Regions from separate parts of the Homo sapiens genome. Here region 1 is linked to region 2. Evidence: promoter capture Hi-C in human tissues and cell types (Jung and others, 2019). All regions are on one chromosome and are shown on one strand. The core of a region is centred on a gene start or on the middle of the fragment in contact, and the rest is flanking DNA. Distances in the headings are between cores, read along the strand shown.

Region 1 (3,191 bases), core at 410-2,909, 51 kb after region 2:
TATGTTGTGGGGTACGGATTGGAAGCTGGATGGAGTAGAGAAAGTTGTGTGGAATTAACATGGTTTATAAGCCTTGCTTGATAATGCACATGGACACTCACCCACACAATGCCAGACTGCTTATGCTAATAGCAGCTCCCTTCTGTGACATAAAGTCTTTTCTATGAGAATAAGGGAAACTGCCATTTTTGTTCTTTAGGAAAGAGAGAGAGAGATTGGGGAGGGTAAGGAAGGGGTGGCAAGGGGTGAGGAAGGGGAGGAGGCGAAAGGGGGCGAGACATAGAGAGATAGGCACACACACACTTCAAGGATTTCAGTGAAGGTGTTACAACAGCCAAAGGGCCATTCATTATACACAGCACAGGAGAATCAACACATTTTTAGGATGAGGAGAAATAAAATAGGTTTATCTCGTAAAGGTTTGACAATGAGTGTTAGTTCAATAACACAATTTCAGGGCATAGATGACATCAAGGCCTGATAACGGACAGAAATTACATTGGAGTGCAACATACTGGAAAAAGAGCAGGTGAAGGCAGTCATTAATGAAACTATCACATGGGAAAGATAAGATCACTGTCAGCAGAGGTTTCCAGCCCCCACCTTCCACAGCCAACACTGTGGTCAGCCCTGTCCTGAAACACACATAAAGTACCCGGCAGCTCTCAGATAAGACTCCCTGACCCCTACTCTTGTCTGCATAATCTTTAAGTCTGCCAAAATCTGACCTGCCTAGAGGTTTTTACGAGTCTTTCTTCTAATAATCAATGCCATGGCATAGAAAGACTTGTCAGGGATGATACCTTGTGTGGAAAACACTATAAACAGTAAGCTTTAATCTTTCTTTTCTCTCTTGTCTATTGCCTGAGTCCTTGTACCCCCTGCTCTGACTTCACTGAGAGGCAGGCCATCATCAGAGTCATATCAATGTGTGTGGCTGGGCTAAGACACTGTGTCACCTGACATATTAGTCTAACTCTGTGAAGAGACTATTAAATTAATACTAATTACGATTCAAATCACAAGTCCATAGGTCCCCTGTAATAAGTCTTGTAGTAATGGGCTTGAAAGTCATTTTATGTTAAGAGAGGATGTGTAGAAAGTAATTGGAAATTGGAAAATGATCTATCTATATGGAAGGACACAAATGGGCCACATTGTGACAGCTGCCATATACTGAGCATTCACCATGCGTCAGGCTCTGTACTTAGTCCTTGGCATACATAATTTCTTTAATCCTAATAGCCTATGATGTACTATTATTATTCCCATCTTACAGATGATAAAACTGAGATTATGTGACTAGCCCAAGGTCACACAGCTAGTAAGGGGTAGAACCCACCTAGCCTGTTGCCAGAGTCTTGCTTTCAACATCAGGGCAGGCCATTGCTACCTTGTGTTTAATTTTTTGTGTGCAAACCAGAAAAAGGTATGTCTTCATCAAGACCCTTTACTACCATCTCCATAAAATGGCCATAATACATATTTAAATCGACAATGACCACAGTGTGAATGGTGCCGTCCAGAGCTGTGGGGTAATCCAAACATACACAACCATATGGGCAACCCTGCTTAGAGGCTTTATCCCGTACCCACTGACCCCAGGAAGAAAGACATCATAGTACAAGGTCAGTCAATGAGGAAGTTCAGCAGAACAGCACATTAGGGGGTTTCTATTTCATGGAGAGACTGGTAGCAGCCCTAAAACCTGACTGGGAAGAGTGAAACACTGACAACAAAACATCTGAGGCAAAGGATATAATTAAGAACACACCAAGGCCTTCTTCCATCAAGACCTGAGGTACTAGGATAGCAAACCATCTTTGTGGGCTTCCAAGCAGAAGAAGCAGTGATGGGACACGCCCATATATGCAGGGAGGCTCATGTGAATCCCCTGAACTGGGTGGAGACTGAAGGTCCCCTAAAATGGCACCTCCTTGGGTCTTCCTTTACAATAGAAGCTGCCTCAGCTTCCCCTCATCATGTGCTAAAGAGCAGAGCGGCAGGAATGACATTTTATGAGAAATAGATCCATTACAAATTAAAATTTTCTTTTCCTCTCTGATATTTTTGCATAAGCAAACATATCAACTATTGAGTTTGACACTGGATGAATATGAGGCAGTCAACTTGATGACAAATTCTATTATTTTAAACCCTAGTGCTATATAGTTTAATTCTAGATTTAGGTATACTTTGGCTCTTCCCCAGCAAACACAGTGATTAATAAGATGGCTACAATAAATTGAGAAACAGGGGATGAGTGCCAGAAAGACCTTTTCCACAAATGAGGTATGCCACCCTAAATATGAAAAAATATCTCTTTAGTGAGGGAGGTGGGGGTCATAATTCAACTTTCAGAATCTGACGGAGTGTTCATTTAATTTTCACACTTCACCAGAGTTAAAGTATAGATGTGTCATCTGATTCTCATGAATACTATTTTGAAATTAAAATGTTCTTCAACTTCACATTTCAACTGCTGTAATAATAATGTTTATTTCACACTTGGGTGCAGCCTATGGGCAACCTTCTGGTCCTTCCTTTTCTGTTAAGTATGAACATATTAAAGAGAGCTGCTTCCTAGTAAACTGATCACATGCATTGGAGAGTCTTAGGAAACCACAGTGGGTCCACTTGCTGCAGGAGGCTTCATATATACTCTCTGGGCATGACTATTTTGAGGTACATTCAAGCAGACAAGCTTTTCTGATCCTCATTAACATACTTCTCATAACTATTGCTGGCATTTCAGATTATACAATGCTACTGAAATTAATTTATAATTACATAATCACAACCTGAATTCTAAGTCCAGTATCTTTTAATGGTAAATAAAATTAATTTCATGGTTGCTTTGATTCTTCCTACATAAGCCAGAGAAGCACCAGCTATATTTTTTCACGTCTTCGTGTTATTTGAGGATTCTTCAGTGAGTTGTCTCACTTCTCTTTTAGGGTTCCCAGCAAATTATAACTACGGTCTCTGCTTTTTTTATGAATGCTATGGGAGTGGGGTATAACAGGAACTTCTGAAATTGAACCTTATTACAAGGGGCATTTGCCTTTCAATAAAAGGCAGAGAGGAGAAAGGCAGAGACAGGAAAAGGGGAGAAGAAGGCTGAAAATGAGAGGCACAGTCTGAAGCATCTGGTACTTAAAAGAGAATTACACTTTCTTTAACCTTTTTGT
Region 2 (3,480 bases), core at 618-3,117:
GCCTGCTCTCTTCTGGATGTTGCCCACAGACCAAAAACATAGCCTACTGCAGGATAAGAGGCCACATGGAGCCAACAGCAGACACATGAGTGAGGCCACCTTGGACTTTCAGCTTAGCTGATTCTCCAGTTCAGGGATCAGCAAACTACAGCCTGTAGGCCATAGCCTGCTTCTGTATGGCCCTTGAGCTATGAATAGCTTTGGGTTTTTAATAGTTTATAAAAATTAAATAAAAAAGAATATGTGACAGAGACAAAGTCTAAAATATTTACTATCTGATCCTGTTTTACAGAAAACTTGGCCAACCCCTGCTACAGCTGAATGTATCTATACGAGTGAGCCAAATCAAAACCAGAGAGGAACCACATAACCAACCTTCAGAATTATGAGAAATATTAAATTGACATTTTTGCAAGCAACTATATTTTGGGAGAGTTCGATCTGCAGCAATAGATGACTCAATCACAAGCTGATAAATGCTACACAAAGAAAAAGGAGACTGCTTCAAAGGAAATAATCTCATAAAGGTTTTGGGCCTTTTTGTCTCACTTACTTCATTTAGGAGAATTTCTTACCCCAATCTGTTGTCCATGGCTCTGCTTTGCATTCCAGGGAAGTTTTGGCAGCTATGAGCACATATACCTGCTGGTTACTCAAAGGACATTCAAAACATTTTAAAAATGAGTATTGAAATACAACTTTTCTAAAATTTTAAGAAACGGAATTTGTAAAATATAGTATTAATGCCCTAAAGCATTCTTCCAAATAAGAGGTCTATTTTTTCAGCATATTAATCTATCTGCAGTGAAACCTGTCTGGTTTTGTTATTAATGGACCTCCTTGACTTAGTGAGGTGAACTGTCAGCCCAGGTAGGGTGAAGAATGGCTGTGATAAAGGCGTGCAGCAGGGCAGCAATCACTTTACCCTCTGCAAAGGACACAGCTACCTGCCAAGGCTGGAACCAGGAAAACAATCTCAACCATAATTTAGATCTGATTATTATAATTTAGATCTGATTATTTATGCAGTGTCAACTAAGTCCTTGACTTACACTGCTACTATCTAAACTTACTTTTGTTGTATATCCATTTTGATCTCTATATTCACCCCTATTATTTTCAGAGAACCTTCAAACTATCCTAAGTAATTTTGCAGAAAAAGGCTATAAGGAAGAAGCAGTCAGGCCAAAGAGTCAGTAAACAAAAAGAAATGGTGGGCCACGTTTAGTCTTGATGCAAATGTGTGGGTTACAATCAGGGGTGGTGCTCATGGCTGAGCTTGGTAGTGGTTAAATACATGATCCAGACCCACTTGATTTTGAGGAAAGGACCAGTACAATCAATACTGCACATCTTGGTAAAAGGAGTTTGAGGAGATGGATCTGGGAGTTTAGGTCAGCTATGCTCAGGTGTACAAAAGCAACTCCCTGGGACTCCCATCCATACACAGGCCATTGAAACCTGACGTGTCTCTCTTACCCCCATTCCATTCCCCATCGATTCCGGAAGAAGAACTGGCATTTCTTCTGAGACAGCAAAGAACTCCTCCTAAGATTTCCTCTTTCCTAATTAGTTCTGTATGAAGTTTAACAAGAAAATCCCTCCAGGGCCGCCTCGAGGCCATGCACTCACGCAGTTTGGAAAGACGACCAGGGAAAAAGGATCTCAAACAAAAATTCTAGCTCGACGTCTGCCACTAAGTTGTCTAATTTTGGCCAGCATCAACTAAAGGCATACATAACACGGCCGTGCTCGGAATGCAAGGTGACCGCGAGGACCCAGAGGGCGCGCCATGCGAGCTCACAGGGCTGGGGGCCGCCTGGGCCCGCGCGTGCAGCCAGGGGCTTCCGGCCGCGGCCCTGGCGCGTGGTCTGCGCGCGCCCGGCCGTGCGTGCGGATGCGGGGAGGCTGCGTGTGTGCGCAGGGAGAGAACGCCGGCCACCTTCCCGCTTCCGAGCTGGGTGCGCGCCGAGCACAGGAGGTGAGTGAGAAGGGCGGCCCTGCAGGGTCTCCGAGGCGGTTGAGTCCTGCCACTGGGTGGAGGGTATAGCCACCGGACCCGCCTTTCCCGGAACGCGCCGTCCTCGGAAACGCCTAGACCCCGGCAGCTAGGCCGGGAGGCACCGCCCACTCCTCTAGAGCGGAGCGTGGCCCAGGTTGAGCCGCCGCACCGTGGGTCTCGGGTCTCGGTGACGAGCAGCTGCCCGCCTCCGGTGAGCGCGGGAGAAGGGGCCCAGTGGGGCAGTGGGCGACGCGGAGGGCCCAGGCCCAGGCCGCGGCCGCGCCGCATCCGCTGGTTGTCCACCTTGCCTTGCCCCAGGGTGCAATACCTGCCTTGCGTCGCCCGTGCCGCTCCAGCCACCGTCAAATCCGGGTAGCGACCCGGGGCGTTTGCAGCGGTGCCGAGGAAGAGGACGGGAACGGTGTTACGGTATTGGTGGGCCCCTAACAGGCCTGCGGCGAACGCTTTCCCGGAGCGCTAGGGAAGGGCCCCGGCGCAGGGATGTCGGAGGGATTGGGAAGGAATGTGAAACTAAGTGGGGAATGTGGAGAACGGGCGGAGAGAGAAGGAAATCCCACGGGGCTAGGGCTACAGGATTCCTACAGGCAGTGTTAAGGAACATACAGGGCGTTTTAAAAAGATTCCTAGAGGTGCAACGGAGTCTCACTTTTCCAAGCAGTAAGGAATGATGCCATCCTCAAGTACGGGTAGTCTTTGAATTCAGTATCCGTTCGCCTTCTTAATGTTGGATTTAGGAGGGAGATTTGCAGGGCTTTCATGATTTTGTTTCCTCTGCGTTTTGCACAGATTGCCTGCGTTTAGGAGGTGGCTGCGTTGTGGGAAAAGCTATCAAGGAAGAAATTGCCAAACCATGTCTTTTTTTCTGTTTTCAGAGGTAAGGAAAATTTGGGTTTGCAGTGTTCAACTGGGAACAAGTTTTTTAGCTTCTCCCAGGAGGCTTAAGCAAAAGAAGGGCGCTGAATTTGTGCTCTTAGTATGCATGTGTCGATGCCTGATAAAAGCACAAATTACTGAACGCGTATCAGTCTGGAGAACAGAATCGTTTATTACTAACAGATAAGAGACTATGACTTTTTTCCCCTCATAGACTAAAATGTTCGTTCAAATGAATGGCCATTGGATAACTCCAGACCTGAAAATAAACACTGTTGTCAAAACAGCATCCAGGCCGGGCGCGGTGGCTCACGCCAGTAATTCCAGCACTTTGGGAGGCCGAGGCGGGCAGATCACCTCAGGTCGGGAGTTCGAGATCGGCTTGGCCAACGTGGTGAAACCCCGTCTCTACTAAATATACAAAATTAGCTGGGTGTGGTGGCACACACCTGAAATCCCAGTTCCTCGGGGGGCTGAGGCAGGAGAATTGCTCGAACCCGGGAGGCAGAGGTTGCAGTGAGCCGAGATTGTGCCATTGCACTCCAGCCTGGGCAACAGAGTGAGACTCCATCTCCAAAACAAAC

What was found. The method cuts DNA at HindIII sites, captures the fragments that hold promoters and counts their contacts. A contact is called where the count stands out against the background at its distance.
Region 1: a fragment that was not itself captured here is called in contact with the fragment with the promoter of B3GALNT1 in region 2 in 1 of the 25 tissues and cell types used here (thymus).

The regions. Positions count from the first base shown.
Region 1 is chr3:161,052,800-161,055,990 of GRCh38, reverse strand. All of the region lies in intron 2 of PPM1L (protein phosphatase, Mg2+/Mn2+ dependent 1L), which reads right to left. Among named protein-coding and RNA genes, the nearest start is that of B3GALNT1, 51 kb to the left of the region's middle. The HindIII fragment of the contact is 5,452 bases long and covers 1-3,191 here.
Region 2 is chr3:161,103,736-161,107,215 of GRCh38, reverse strand. B3GALNT1 (beta-1,3-N-acetylgalactosaminyltransferase 1 (Globoside blood group)) reads left to right here and starts at 1,867. Exons shown (of 5, transcript NM_003781.4): 1 at 1,867-1,981; 2 at 2,810-2,897. It overlaps LOC124909453 (a long non-coding RNA gene), which reads right to left and starts at 2,535. Exons shown (of 2, transcript XR_007096147.1): 1 at 2,331-2,535; 2 at 1-645. RefSeq lists silencers at 1,963-2,052, 2,063-2,312. The HindIII fragment of the contact is 8,350 bases long and covers 1-3,480 here.